Linked DNA regions of Homo sapiens: regions 2, 3, 4 and 5 are each linked to region 1. Evidence: promoter capture Hi-C in human tissues and cell types (Jung and others, 2019). All regions are on one chromosome and are shown on one strand. Each heading gives the region's core, a stretch centred on a gene start or on the middle of the fragment in contact. The rest is flanking DNA. Distances are from core to core; before and after follow the strand shown.

What was found. Contacts are between HindIII fragments. The study calls those that stand out against the background at their distance.
Region 2: a fragment that was not itself captured here is called in contact with the fragment with the promoter of CNTN1 in region 1 in 3 of the 25 tissues and cell types used here (H1 embryonic stem cells, hippocampus and spleen).
Region 3: a contact is called between a fragment that was not itself captured here and the fragment with the promoter of CNTN1 in region 1, in 7 of the 25 tissues and cell types used here (H1 embryonic stem cells, adrenal gland, dorsolateral prefrontal cortex and 4 more).
Region 4: a contact is called between a fragment that was not itself captured here and the fragment with the promoter of CNTN1 in region 1, in 5 of the 25 tissues and cell types used here (dorsolateral prefrontal cortex, heart right ventricle, hippocampus and 2 more).
Region 5: a fragment that was not itself captured here is called in contact with the fragment with the promoter of CNTN1 in region 1 in 2 of the 25 tissues and cell types used here (bladder and thymus).

What each region holds. Positions count from the first base shown.
Region 1 is chr12:40,691,116-40,693,792 of GRCh38, reverse strand. CNTN1 (contactin 1) reads right to left here and starts at 1,354. Exons shown (of 24, transcript NM_001843.4): 1 at 1,201-1,354. The HindIII fragment of the contact is 18,580 bases long and covers 1-2,677 here.
Region 2 is chr12:40,932,586-40,935,262 of GRCh38, reverse strand. It overlaps CNTN1 (contactin 1), which reads right to left. Exons shown (of 24, transcript NM_001843.4): 8 at 1,703-1,802; 9 at 1,385-1,566. Among named protein-coding and RNA genes, the nearest start is that of CNTN1, 240 kb to the right of the region's middle. The HindIII fragment of the contact is 4,404 bases long and covers 1-2,677 here.
Region 3 is chr12:40,884,440-40,887,116 of GRCh38, reverse strand. The region is part of intron 1 of CNTN1 (contactin 1); the gene reads right to left. Among named protein-coding and RNA genes, the nearest start is that of CNTN1, 190 kb to the right of the region's middle. The HindIII fragment of the contact is 7,874 bases long and covers 1-2,677 here.
Region 4 is chr12:40,853,593-40,856,269 of GRCh38, reverse strand. All of the region lies in intron 1 of CNTN1 (contactin 1), which reads right to left. Among named protein-coding and RNA genes, the nearest start is that of CNTN1, 160 kb to the right of the region's middle. The HindIII fragment of the contact is 5,315 bases long and covers 1-2,677 here.
Region 5 is chr12:40,553,913-40,556,589 of GRCh38, reverse strand. The region is part of intron 156 of MUC19 (mucin 19, oligomeric (gene/pseudogene)); the gene reads right to left. It also overlaps the pseudogene RNU6-713P. Among named protein-coding and RNA genes, the nearest start is that of CNTN1, 140 kb to the left of the region's middle. The HindIII fragment of the contact is 5,397 bases long and covers 1-2,677 here.

The DNA of each region.
Region 1 (2,677 bases), core at 105-2,604:
CTTTTGCCCCGCCCACTCAGTGCTTCCAGATTGCTTGAGAAGGCCAAGGCAGCCGGCTCAGCAGCAGGGAAGCCGGGCTGGGTATGCAGGAGCTATATATAGCTCCACCTTGGAGATGTGCACACACAAGCACACGTACGAATACCCATGCCCGGTTTGGCATGAAAATAAATAAATAAATAAGGAAAGGTCGCAGCTATCCGCTTTCCCTCTTTCCCATCATCCCAATTTTTCAGGAATTTTCAAAGCAGGGTGTCATCAGTCCCAGAGGGTGATGCAGCGTCGGATCTCTCTGCAATTCTTCTGCCTACTGCTCCCAGCAATCTGACTCCTGCAGGAACCGGCACTGGGCCAACACCTACTACCCAGATGCGGTCACCTAGGGAGGCAGCCTCGCAGCCGCTCGGAGCCCATCCGGGCACAATCACTTGACTCCCTGGAAATCCCTGAAGCCAAATCCACCTTTCAGAAACTAGGTGTGAAGGTGGTTCCCGTAGACAGCGCCAGGCTAGGAGGGAAGGGGCCGTGGCTCCGCGGTCTCTCCCTCCCACCTGCCGCAGATCGTGGAGAAGGGCCGGTGCCTTCTCAACGGAGACGTAATTAATCGGAACGTGCCCTTCGAGTTGCAGGGATTCTTCCCCACCCCCATCTCCTGAAGGGAGCTAGATCTTAACAGAGGGGTCAGGGGACAAACAAGTCGCTTCCTCCCCTCTCCGCAACCGCTCCCAGGTTTTCCGGGATGCGCTAGCCAGGCGCCCAGGTGGGATGGGAAAGATGAGCAGGTGCGGGCCGGCGTCGGGAGAAAAAGACCTGCAGGCCCCGGGCTGCCGACCTCTCTGCTTCCCCACCCCTCCCCTGCCGAGGCGATATGGCATCCCTGGGGCGAGTTCCCGGCGCTGGCGGCGGCAGCCTCCGAAAGGAAAGTTGACGAGACACAGACCCCGAGCTCGGAGCCCTCTTCTAGGGCACTGCCGTCCTGCCTTGCCCGGCACCCCAGGGCTCCGGCATCCCGCACCCCTGCTTCCCCGCACCCCAGCCACCTCCGCCCCAGTCCTTCCCGCGCCGCACGGCGAGAGCTGCAGGGACCACAGGAGATTTGGGGGTGACGAGGGCTGGGCGGGGCTGGGGGAAGGGAAGCAACAGCATGGAAATGCGCATTCTTTATTTTATCTGCAAAGAAGGAAAAGTCCAGCTTCCTACCTGTTCCCTGCTCCTGCTCGCCTCGGTGCGGCACAGCTGGACCATACCCTACAGGTTTCCCACTTCCGCTGCAAACACCTGGGAGCGCATCTCCCCACCGGCGCCCCTCCTCGCCTCGGCGGAGCCCACCCTGGCTACTTGACAGCAGAAGCCCGGCCTTTTAGGGCGGTTATTGGGGCAGCAGGGAAAGTGGGGCGGGGACCACAGGGAAACCCGCTTCTCTGATTGGACAACAGGGATATCACTCTCACCCCCAGGACCAGCGCAGGCTGCAGACTTGGGTAGCTGCTAAACCCAACTGCAAAGGGTCTCTGCAGTGCCTGAAACCCAAACCTGCTGCTACCGGATCAAGGACCCTTGCTGGAGAGAAACTGGTTTGATGACTTGTCATTTGGGGCCCCAAGAGGGAGGGAGGGTCCAGGCATAACTAGACACCCAGCACTTTCCTGAAGCTTCCCTGAAGGGACCATCTGCTCCGGGAGATTTGTCAGGCGAAAATACCAAGCCAGCGCCTCATAGAGAAGAATGAGCTTCGATTAGGAAATAATAAGATACTTATGTGGGAAAAAATACACACACAGAAAGGAAAATAAAACGATGTGAGGTTTTTTTTTAAAGTTTCCATTTTTGTCCAGATGTAACATGGCAGTTTTTCTTGAGAAAAGACGGAATTGCTTAGTCTGTAATGCAGAAGACCCCCTAATATTCCCTGGTAGAAACAGTGTTTTAAACGGGAAAGCACTGCATAATAACCTCTCAAAAAAAAAAAAAGGGTAAAAGAAATTAAGGCCAAACTGCATGAGAGATTTGCTTTGGGGCAGTTCAGTTTGTGGCAAAAGTCTTAAAATAATCACCATTAGACTGATTGATAATTAAGTGATCTGTTACTTTTCTATTGATAGTAGTTTATCATTTCTTTAGTACTCAGACACTGAGAGGATGTTTATGCCCCCAAACCTAAGTGATCCCAAGCCTGCCTTTTATGTGAAGGGAACAGGGTAAAATAACTTTGTGTCCAGTTGCCATCTCTGCCATTTATTCAGGTGGAATCTGGAAATTTTGGAATTCAAGAGACTCCTTAAATGAAGGAACGTGCTAGAACTACCACGTGTAAAACTGGGAGTGTAGGGTGTCTTAGTATATAGTACCATGTGAGGAATCAAGTTGCCTTCTGCCTGCAAATAGCCACATTCTTCTTCTATCTGAATTAAGTAGCCATCTTAAGTGCTGAGCATAAGACACAACTCTCATTCTCACAGAGCTTCAAAGAGCTTATGACAGGCTTGGGACACTGGACAACTGTTAGAGAAGATGACATTGCTATTAATAAATATAGACTCTACTTAGTGGTTACGGTTGTTATTACTATCATCAGGTAAGGCTCTTCATAATGTTTTCTTCATAATACTGAAGGAATCCGATTAATGCATTTGAAGGTGGGGGCCGGGCGAGGTGGCTCATGCCTGTAATCCCAGCA
Region 2 (2,677 bases), core at 52-2,551, 240 kb before region 1:
TCAAAAGTTTAAAGGACCTTACCTAGTATTTTCTTCCTTTTAGGAGGCCATTTCATGCAGACTTGATATGTATTGCATTAATGTTACTGTGGCATTGGACATACGAGTCTGAAGTTCAGAGTAAATGTTTGGGTTAGAGCATTCAGGGTACAGAGTGTGTCTAAAGCCATGATCACGAGTGGGATCATAAATGGAGTGACTGAAATGGAGATGGGGTTCACAGATGGAACCCTGATCACACCAATGTTAGAAAAGTATGGAGTTGAAAGGCAATGGAGAATGAAAGATTATACAAGGAAATTAATAACAAAGTAGGTTGCAGACATGAAGTGCAGAAAGTGAATCATGAAGAAGGGAGGGACCAACTGTGGCAACCACTGCTGTTAGATCAAAAAAAAGTACAACTGAGAATTGATCATTAGCTTTAGCAATATGGAAGTCTGTGGTCATGAAAAGAAAGGTTTCTGTGGAGAGGCAGAGATGCAAATCATGTTGGAGTGCAATTAAGAGAGAAGAAAAACTGGAGATGGAGACAACACTTTTAGAGAGAATGCGTGAATCTGTCAAATTTTTTATTCCTTTTTGGGAGAGACGGGAGAAAGTGAAATGGGACAGTAGCCAGAGTTAAAAACGAATAATATTGTGGAAGCCCTCGATGTTTATTCACTTGTGACCTGCAAAGTTCATGTTGTGGAACATTATAGAAATTATTTCAGTCTGGAAAGTTTCCAGTGTGGCCTGAAAAAAAATCTGTCTTCCCAAATGTAAGTTTATTTTAATGTGTGAAAATCAAAGGTTTGTGCCATGATAATTTTGTCAAAAAAAAAAAAAAAGATTTCTTAAACCAGTGGTTCTCAAAGTGTGACTCCAGGACCAATATTATCAGCATCCTTTGGGAATTTGTTAAAAATACAAATTCATGAGCCCCTAACAGACCTCTGAATGAAAAATTCTGAGAGTTTGGCCCAGCAATCTGTTTTAACAAGCCCTCCATGTGATTTTGATGCATGCTTAAGTTTGCAAACCACTGACTTAAACTAAGTCATAACACATAGCTTCTTCTATAAATAAAAAGATACTGAAAAAAGACAGTGATAAAATGAGTAAACAAACTACATTAAGTGTATATTCTGAAAATTACCAATAACACTTCTATCAATCTATTGCTATTACCTATGGTTCAACTGGTAATAAGTTCGTAACTTCTATAACTCATAGTTGTGACTTCATTAGACATATGAGAAATATTTTATCTTTCTCCATGATGTAACATGCATCACTGTTTTTAAAACCATTAATCATTATATAGTAGTTTTTCATGTATGGAAATGGCTCTAAATAAGATACTGATGAAATTTATACAAAATTAAAATAATGTATCTACCTTGAACATAAATTCTTGCTTGATGTTTATCCTTTCCTCTAATGTTCTCAGCCTCACATTCATAGATGCCTTCATCTTCTAGCTGAATATTGAAGATCTTAAGAACAGCCCCAGAGGTGCTAATCTCAGCAGTGCTTGGCATTGGTTCTAGAACCTTCCGCCATCGGATATCCGGAACAGGACTTTAAATAGAAGATACAAGGGTTAAAGTTTCACACACTTAAAAGACAATTACTTTATGTTTATAGCTAAACAATTATTTATTTCCTAAAATGGTACTATTTCTATATATATTAATAAAAGTGTCAGTATACTTACTTTCCAAGTGCAAAACATTCTAAGGTCACATTTTGGCCCATCAATGCATATACATCCTTGAACTGAACTACAATATCAGCAGGATATGGTTTTGTTGTTCCTAATATTAAGAGAAACACAAATATCCACTAATTATTAGGCACAATATTAGTTATTCTTAAACATGGTAATTCTACAGGATTAGAGCTGCTCCAACATGGAAGCTTTTCTCTGTACAGGTACAGGTCATATCATAATGGATAGACTTGTTTGTTTATGCACAGTATGAATATAGTATAACTTCTCAGTATTTTCAATAATATTGGCTCGTTCTGACAGCTGCATAACCATTGTGACTCAATTTACTAAAAAAAATCCTGTCTTTAGTGAGCAACAGATATGTGTCAAACATTGTGATCAGTGCTGCATGGAACTCAGGAAGGTGGAGAAAGAAAATGAGGGAGAAGGAAAGAGAAGAAGGAGAAGAGAGTAGAAAAGAAAGACGCAAGGCAAGAAACTAAGGAGAAAAGAAGAAATGCCCACAGAGATAAAGGCAAAGGGAAACAAATTGAAAAGAGAGAAGGAGAGAGGGAAAGAAGGAAAACATTTACTCAGACAACACAGCACTCTTCAAACTAGACACTTTATTTCATTTATTTAGCACATCAGTCCTGAAAGATGTATTAATCCTTCAGGCTTACAGAAAAAATCAGGCTTAGAAAGGTGAAAGGCATTGTTTAGGATCACAAATTGAGTGTGTACCACACACTGTAAAATGCTAAAGAGACAAATAAATAAATAATGATATATAAGCCAAATCAAAATGGGTACTTTGAAAGAGTGACTGATGAGGACGGTAGTTAGAAGTAGGTAAGGGCTATAGCACTCTGAGGCAAATATGGCATTTAAATTGGACCAGTTTAGCTTGAGCAAACACCATATTACGACAAAGCTCCAGGAGTGTGCAAGGAATTTTAAAAGGTCTAGGAACTCAAA
Region 3 (2,677 bases), core at 93-2,592, 190 kb before region 1:
ACCAATGACTTTCTTCACAGAATTGGAAAAAACTACTTTAAAGTTCATATGGAACCAAAAAAGAGCCTGCATTGCCAAGTCAATCCTAAGCCAAAAGAACAAAGCCAGAGGCATCACGCTACCTGACTTCAAACTACACTACAAGGCTACAGTAACCAAAACAGCATGGTACTGGTACCAAAACAGAGATATAGATCAATGGAACAGAACAGAGCCCTCAGAATTAATGCCACATATCTACAACTATCTGATCTTTGGCAAGCCTGAGAAAAACAAGCAATGGGGAAAGGATTCCCTATTTAATAAATGGTGCTGGGAAAACTGGCTAGCCATATGTAGAAAGCTGAAACTGGATCCCTTCCTTACACCTTATACAAAAATTAATTCAAGATGGATTAAAGACTTACATGTTAGACCTAAAGCCATAGAAACCCTAGAAGAAAACCTAGGCAATACCATTCAGGACATAGGCATGGGCAATGACTTCATGTCTAAAACACCAAAAGCAATGGCAACAGAAGCCAAAATTGACAAATGGGATCTAATTAAACTAAAGAGCTTCTGCACAGCAAAAGAAACTACCATCAGAGTGAACAGGCAACCTACAAGATGGGAGAAAATTTTTGCAACCTACTCCTCTGACAAAGGGCTAATATCCAGAATCTACGATAAAAGACTCTTAACTTTTACAGCCATAAGCCCTTTTAATAATCTAATGAAGGTTATATAACATCTCCCCTAAATAATGCAAACCAACACACAGGATTTGATAGATCAATATTATGTTAAGTCCATGGGAATAGATTTAAAACACTGTGAAGACAGGGCCCATCGCTGTCTGGTCTGTTTTTTATCCCAGTGTCTTCTACCATACTGGAAACACAGAATTTAGCACTGTTTTGGAGCTTAGGCAAATATAGTTCAAAATGAAGCAAAAATTGTATTTACAACAATCAAAAAAGAGGATGCAGAACTATTATTTTGCATACGGTATGATTATAGACCAGGATATCAAAGAAAATGGATTTAAATAAAATATGAACATTAAGAGTTCAGCAAAGTGACTAAGCAGAAGATAAATATAAACTAAACTATAGTTTTCTTTTGTACTAACAATGTCTACTTAGAAATAAGAAAGGTGAAGCCTCAGCCTGCAGTATTAACAAACACACGATTGATGACCTAGAAATACTTTTAATAATCAGTACAAGAAATGAAAAGCTATAAATATTTATTGATAGACTTAAAAGAAGCATTGACAAATTGGAAAACTATACCAGCTCCTGATAACAAGACTCAATATTCTTAAAGTTTTCCAAAATGACATACTTTCAATCAAAGCACAAATGGGATTTCTCTACACTTGAAAGAATAAGTCTCAAATTTATTAGAGAAGAAAAATGTTTGAAAAGGACATTAAGACTATTTTGGAACAAATTATAGCTAATGCATACATAGCACTTACTACTAACCACTGTAAATACATTTAATTCTCATTGGAGTTCTCACAGAAAATCTCTATGGTAAATGCTATGAATATCTCAATTTTACAGATAGAGAAATTGAGACACAAAGATGTGAAGTAGCTAAGGTCACACAGTTAACTAGTAGGCATGTTGGGATTCACAACCAAGCAGTTTAGCTCTAGAGTCCATGTGCTTAAGTACTCTACCAAATTGTTTCTCAAGGCTAATAAAATAACTATAATCCCACCAATTGAAAATCATAATAAAAACTTCATAAAAAATGGTGTTCTTTACAGAACAAACAGATTCTATAAGAACTAACATTTTCTGAGCATTTATTGTGTGCCAGACACCTTACATGTATTATCTCACCCCTCACAAAAACCTTCATATAGGTTCTTCTTTGTGTCCATTTTAGGGATGAAACACCTGAGTCATGTAGGTTAAGCAATTTGCCCAGGATTGTGGTGTTTCTGGTACTAGTAAGTGGTGGAATTAAGATTTAAACCAGGCTTACATTTATATTGCTTGCATCCTCTATTTGTGAAAGTGCTAACAGGTAAAGATATGAAATACGACTCAATAAAGGGCACTGAGGCAACTAAATAGCTAGAAAAAAATCAATAAGCATTCTAATCTCACTTCATATATCAACAAAAACTCAGATGAATTAAAAGTCAAAATATAAAAATCAAATTAACTTACAGAAACTTAAAAAGGAAATAAATACACCAACTCCCTGAATATAAGAAAATACAAAGGAAAAAATTTAAGTTGTATATATAAAAGTTATGAATGAATTTTAAGGGCAAAATGTAAATTGGGAAAAAACTTCAAAAAGATTACAGACATAGCTATAAGGAACTCACAGCAGTTAATATATGAAAGACTATTATAATACTAATAGACTAATGAATAAAGAACATGCTAAACTTACATGAATGAACATACATGTATGACATATGAATAAAAAATGCAACTTAATGCTGTATATATATTTTATTTGATAAAATTTGCACAGCATTAAAATTAACAATACTCGATGTTTATGTGGATGCAATGATTAATATTTTCCTATACTGCTACAAGAAGTAGTAACTAAGACAACATTTTCAGGAAATAATTTAGTAATATGCATCAAGTATCTTAAAAGTATTCAGATACTTTGATACAGTGATTCCTCATAGAGAAATCTATTCTGATTAAATAAT
Region 4 (2,677 bases), core at 112-2,611, 160 kb before region 1:
TCACTGCCTCAATCTATCTGAGTGGTCTTTAAACTGGTGTATATATATTCCTGAGGGCATACAAATCCTTCCAAGTTGTACTTGGAAAAAGATTTTAGATAATTAACTTAAGATACATTTATCTTCAGCTCTATCTTCAGACACAAGTGCAGGCTCTACTTTCCAGCTCCCTCTTTCCTAGTTACCTTCCTCTTATTTTACAGAAGAAAGACATACTTCTCACCCACCCAAAATTTAATGTGCATTGATTGAGCATGTAAACTCTTTGGGAGCACCAAACAAAAAGATAACTGATATAAATGTTGAGAAATACTGGTATGGCTATTGAGAAAGTGAATGGCTAGCAACTAAATTATTTCGTAAGTCAAGCAATTTCCATTTCTTTGCATTCAACAAAATTAAGTTTATTAAAGATAATTTTTGACAATAGATCAAATTCAAAACAGAATTAATATTAAACTCTGTCTAATTTTGGCAATAAGTAACATTCTCCCAAAGGTAGAGGGATTAAAATTTTAAAAGCCCGTCTGTTACATTAAGCTATACATTGCCAATAAAGTTGTACTTCTTTTGTCAGTAACAATTTTTTCAGAATTTGAAATGTAGTTATATAGATTTATTCAAGTGTTCAATAATAAAAATTTTATTGACAACTCATTCTAGAAAAATAATTAACACTTAAAACCTTATAGGAAATGTTTAAAATTAAATTATAACCATTTTATAACTAAAATGCATTATTAGATAATTAAATACTTTTGAGCATATGATATATAATAAAAGAGTGAAATCCATGAGAATGAAAATAGAAATTAAAAAGAAAAAAATGGCACAAAATTTTTAGAGTTGTGCAAGAGATATATCAAATATTTTTAAATAGATAATGACGAGCATTGAATCTCGGTATTATTCAGACTCTAATGGATACTATTAAGAGTAATACAACAGACAATTTAAAATGGCAAAATTTACAATATGCTGAAAATTACATTTTGCAACGGTTTAAACTTATGATGAATGTTTATGTCAATTCACAAGTATATGAGATGATATACAATTTTACAAAATTATTTTGGGAGTGTTTGAGGAACAAAGTTTGGTAACCACTAGACTAGGTCATTAGTATTTCTATCCAAGGTTACTGCACTACCCTCTAGTATTCTTTCTGCTTCACAGTCATGCCTCACTCAAAAATGTTTTCACAACAGTAGCCAGAGCTTTCTTGCAGACAAAAATTCAATCAAGTCACTTGTCTTCTTAATACAATCTAAGGGTCTCTCATTGCCTTCCCTATCACCTCCCCAGTGACACATTGCCACTGTTCCCCTATACCAGCACCCTCCGAGTACTGAACTACAGGACTTTTCAGCCCTCTTGCCTCTGGGCTCGTTCTCAAATTCCTCTTCTTTCTTGACTCCCTGACTCCTCTGGGCTATCTTCCTCCACTTTTTCTCCTTCCGCCATCTGCTCTTCTGATTAGCTCCTAATTATCACTTAGGTCTCAATTCTGAAATCAGTTGCTTTAGAATATGTTCCTTGGCTCTCCTACTCTGAGTTAGAAATCCTCTTCTTATGTTGTCATAGCACATAACTTCCAATTTAGAATGAGAAATGTTAACGGAAGTGAAAAGCTTTCACTTGCTGATCTGCCTTTGGCTCCTTAAATCCTCATATTTTAAATGGTTAGACATTTGCATGACAGTCTTTTTTTTCTTTTCTTATTTCTCCAGCTAGTTTCTGATCCAAGTTTAGAGACACAGAGTCTTGACTTAGAGACTTAAGGTAATTCACATCTTTAAAAAACCATGACCAAACTTTTAAATCTAGAAATATGAGATGAGATGAAACTAAATATGAGAATGTGGGAATAACTAATTATTCCCCCATGTTGTGTCTTGAATAAATCTTTATTCTTCAGGATTCAAAATAAATCAAACTTTCACCAAGAGTCAGTCTTTTCACATTCATCTAAATTCTCTCCCACTCACTTTTATCCCATGAGGAAATTCTATGCTCTTGCAATTTCCCTGTTAACATGTATGACAAGCTGACTTGTCATTTGCATATTTTTAATTTAATATGTGTATTTACCACTAGACTGTAAACTTCCTAAGTATAGATAGCATGTCAGCCTGTCTATTTACTTATCATTATATCCTTGAGAGATAGCATAGTACCTAGCATACAGTAGGAATGAGTTAAAGAATATTTAATAAAAATCTCTAAAATCAATCATTTTGATCTAGGATGCTGTAAAAGAAGTGTTGAAAAAAGCTGAGAAAATATTTGGAAAATTATTATAAATTTGGAGGTACAGGAAGCTTCATTCCGAGGCAGGTATACATAAACACATTTTTTCACTACTGAGGCATATGGTCAGTGGACTGTATATCTTCCTGCATTTTTTAAAGTTATTCAAAATAACTTGATATGATCAGAGCTGTTTAAACAAAAAGTAAGGGCAGAGGGGCTTGGGAAAGGAGACGGATAGAGCTAGAGAGGGAGCTAGACTAACTCCTGATATCAAAGCTATAGCCTTCATTGTAATTACCTATTTTATTGCCCAAGTTTCCCAATAGACTACAGTCTATAGGGGGAAAAAAAAGGATTGTATATCTCTTGTTTATCTTGTATATCTCTTGTTTATCTTGTATATCACTTGTTTATCACAGTGTCT
Region 5 (2,677 bases), core at 78-2,577, 140 kb after region 1:
CCTCAGAGTAATTTGAACTCAAACGATAAAAATCAGACCATACTGTATCATCTATCAAATATTATTTTTAATTCCTCTAGTATATTCCCAAACTTGGTAGATGGCACCATCATCTATCCACCCAAGCACTCAAATCATGAACTAGGAGTCATCTAAATTTATTCCTCTCCTTTATCTCCTCAGCCACACTTGTTGATTCTAACTGGCCAACATCTTGCACACTCTTTCCGCCTCTGCATCCCCTTACGACTAGCTTATTTCAGTCCCTAATCATCTGTCACTTCCAAGAGACTTCAAACTATACAACATACCTCCACCCTTATTCTTACTCTCCTTTCATATCAATCTGCTACCTGTGACAAATTAATCTTCCCAAAGAATCCAACCTGGGCATGATAATTAACCTCTTTAAAAATCCCTTCTCATTGCCCATGGAATCAACTTTTTAATTTTTTGTGTTATAATTGAGGCCAATATTATAATATTCTTATAGAATATAGAATTGATGAGTGATCTTTTTTTCTTCATTTCATGATATTTCTGTCCCAACTTTGCAATCTAGAAGCTCTAAAATCTTCCCAACATTCCCTCTTTCAATGTTCTCTCAACATCTGGGTTGTTTTCCACAAGTATATTGTATTATTGTATTATATACTTCCCTGAAAATTCCATATTGTTTTACATCCCCCAGACATTTTAATAGAAAAGAGAAAATATTCTTTTCTGTCCTAATTCTTTCAAGTAAACAAAAGACCCCCAAGATGTCTTAAGCTTATTTCAGTCATCTTTTATTTATCCAGCCTGGAATTCTTGGTTAGTGGTGACTTTATTTGATATGACAGTAGTATTAGCAAAGACAAGTGTGGAAATACTTTACTTAAAAAAATTCCTGTCCCCATTTAGGTATCTACTTCTGGGAAGCTATGTCCTAACAATGATGTTTCAAATTAAATCTTTAGTTCAGGGTATTCCACAGCATTAATATGACTACCTTCAACGGACTTCAATAAGTCTTCAAATGAAAAGTTTTATCATCTCCTATCAGGGCCTAAATTTCACTAGTAATTAATGAAATCCCCTGTTTGTAATTAATTTCTAATAGTGGTATTGTTCAGTAATGAAGTTGTAGTTCCTGGTAGTAGAGGAAGAAGTTGAGATGACTTAATTTTGAAATCTGGAAAATATTTCATGTTATAGTAGAAGAAATATTCTCAAAGAAGATGGCCTTTTGCCTGAGGTACTCAGAGACAGCTTTCTTTTGTAACTTTGACTAATCCCTGTCGAAACTTCCAGCAAGTGTGATGAAAGAAGATATTCCAGGGGATTTGAAATGAAAATGAAATTGAGGGAAAGATAGTAAAACAGAGAGAGAGAGATCAAGAGAGACAGAGATCATAGTAATGACTTTTTTTTTAACCCAGAGAACAGCATAGACTTGGAAAAATTCACATTTCTTATAAGCCATCCAAGGGCTTCTCTATGCAAAGAGAAACAAAAACCGTACTTTCTCCTAGGCTTCCTCAACTGTGGCAAAACTCTATTCTGGAGCCCTTTTGCTGTGGTTAAATACTTTGGAAAGAAGTGCTTTTCCTTTGCTCCTCAGTTTTAATTCCTGTGGTGTTGCTCCCTCACGTTTCATAGGGACTTCTTGGAAGTGTGGGGGTGAATTTTTTTTAATTAAATTTCTTGGAACCTTAGTCATGAGGATAAACCCATGAGAATAGGTTTAATATGCAATAGAAGTCCAAGATGGGCAAATTAAACACTTTTACTAACCAAGACTGGCATTTTCTAGGCTCTTGAAAACTCCAGCTGACCATATGAAGGCAAGATGGATAAAGGATTCAGAATAACATATCATTCTTAGTTTCATAAAAATCACATCTAAAAAGCTGGTGTGGAGTGGCAAGTTGGAAATAAACAAAAACAAACAAACAAAAACAAGAGCCATCCATCTGCTGTCTTCAAGAGCTCCATCTCACATGTAATTATACCCACAGAGTCAAAATAAAGAAAGAAGGATCTACAATGCAAAAGGAAAGCAAAAAAGATCAGAAGTTGCTATTCTTACATAAAGGACTTTAAACCAACAACAGCAAAAAAGGACAAAGAAGAGCATTACATAGTGATAAAGTGTTTGATTCAAGAAGAAGAATTAACTATTCTAGACATATATGCACCCAGCATTGGAATATCCAGATTCATAATGCAAGTACTTCTAGACCCACAAAAAGACAGCTGCACAGTAATCGTGGGGACTCCAACACCCTACTGACAGCATTAGATTGATCATCAGGGCAGAAAACTAACAAAGAAATTATTGTGCTCACTTCAGCAGCACATATACTAAAATTGGGGTGATACAGAGAATATTAGCATGGCCCTAGTATAAGGATGACACAAAAATTCGTGAGGCATTCCATATTTTTTAAACATACAGCATACCAGAATCTCTGGGTCACAGCTAAAGCAGTGTTAAGAGGGAAGTTTATAGTGCCAAATGCCCACATCAAAATGTTAGAAAGCTCTTAAAGTAACAACCTAACATCACACCTACAGGTACTAGAGAAACAAAAGCAAACCAACCTCAAAACTAGCAGAAGACAGGAAATAACAAAAATCACAGCTGAACTGAAAAAAAAATTAAGATGTGAAAAACCATACAAGATATCAATGA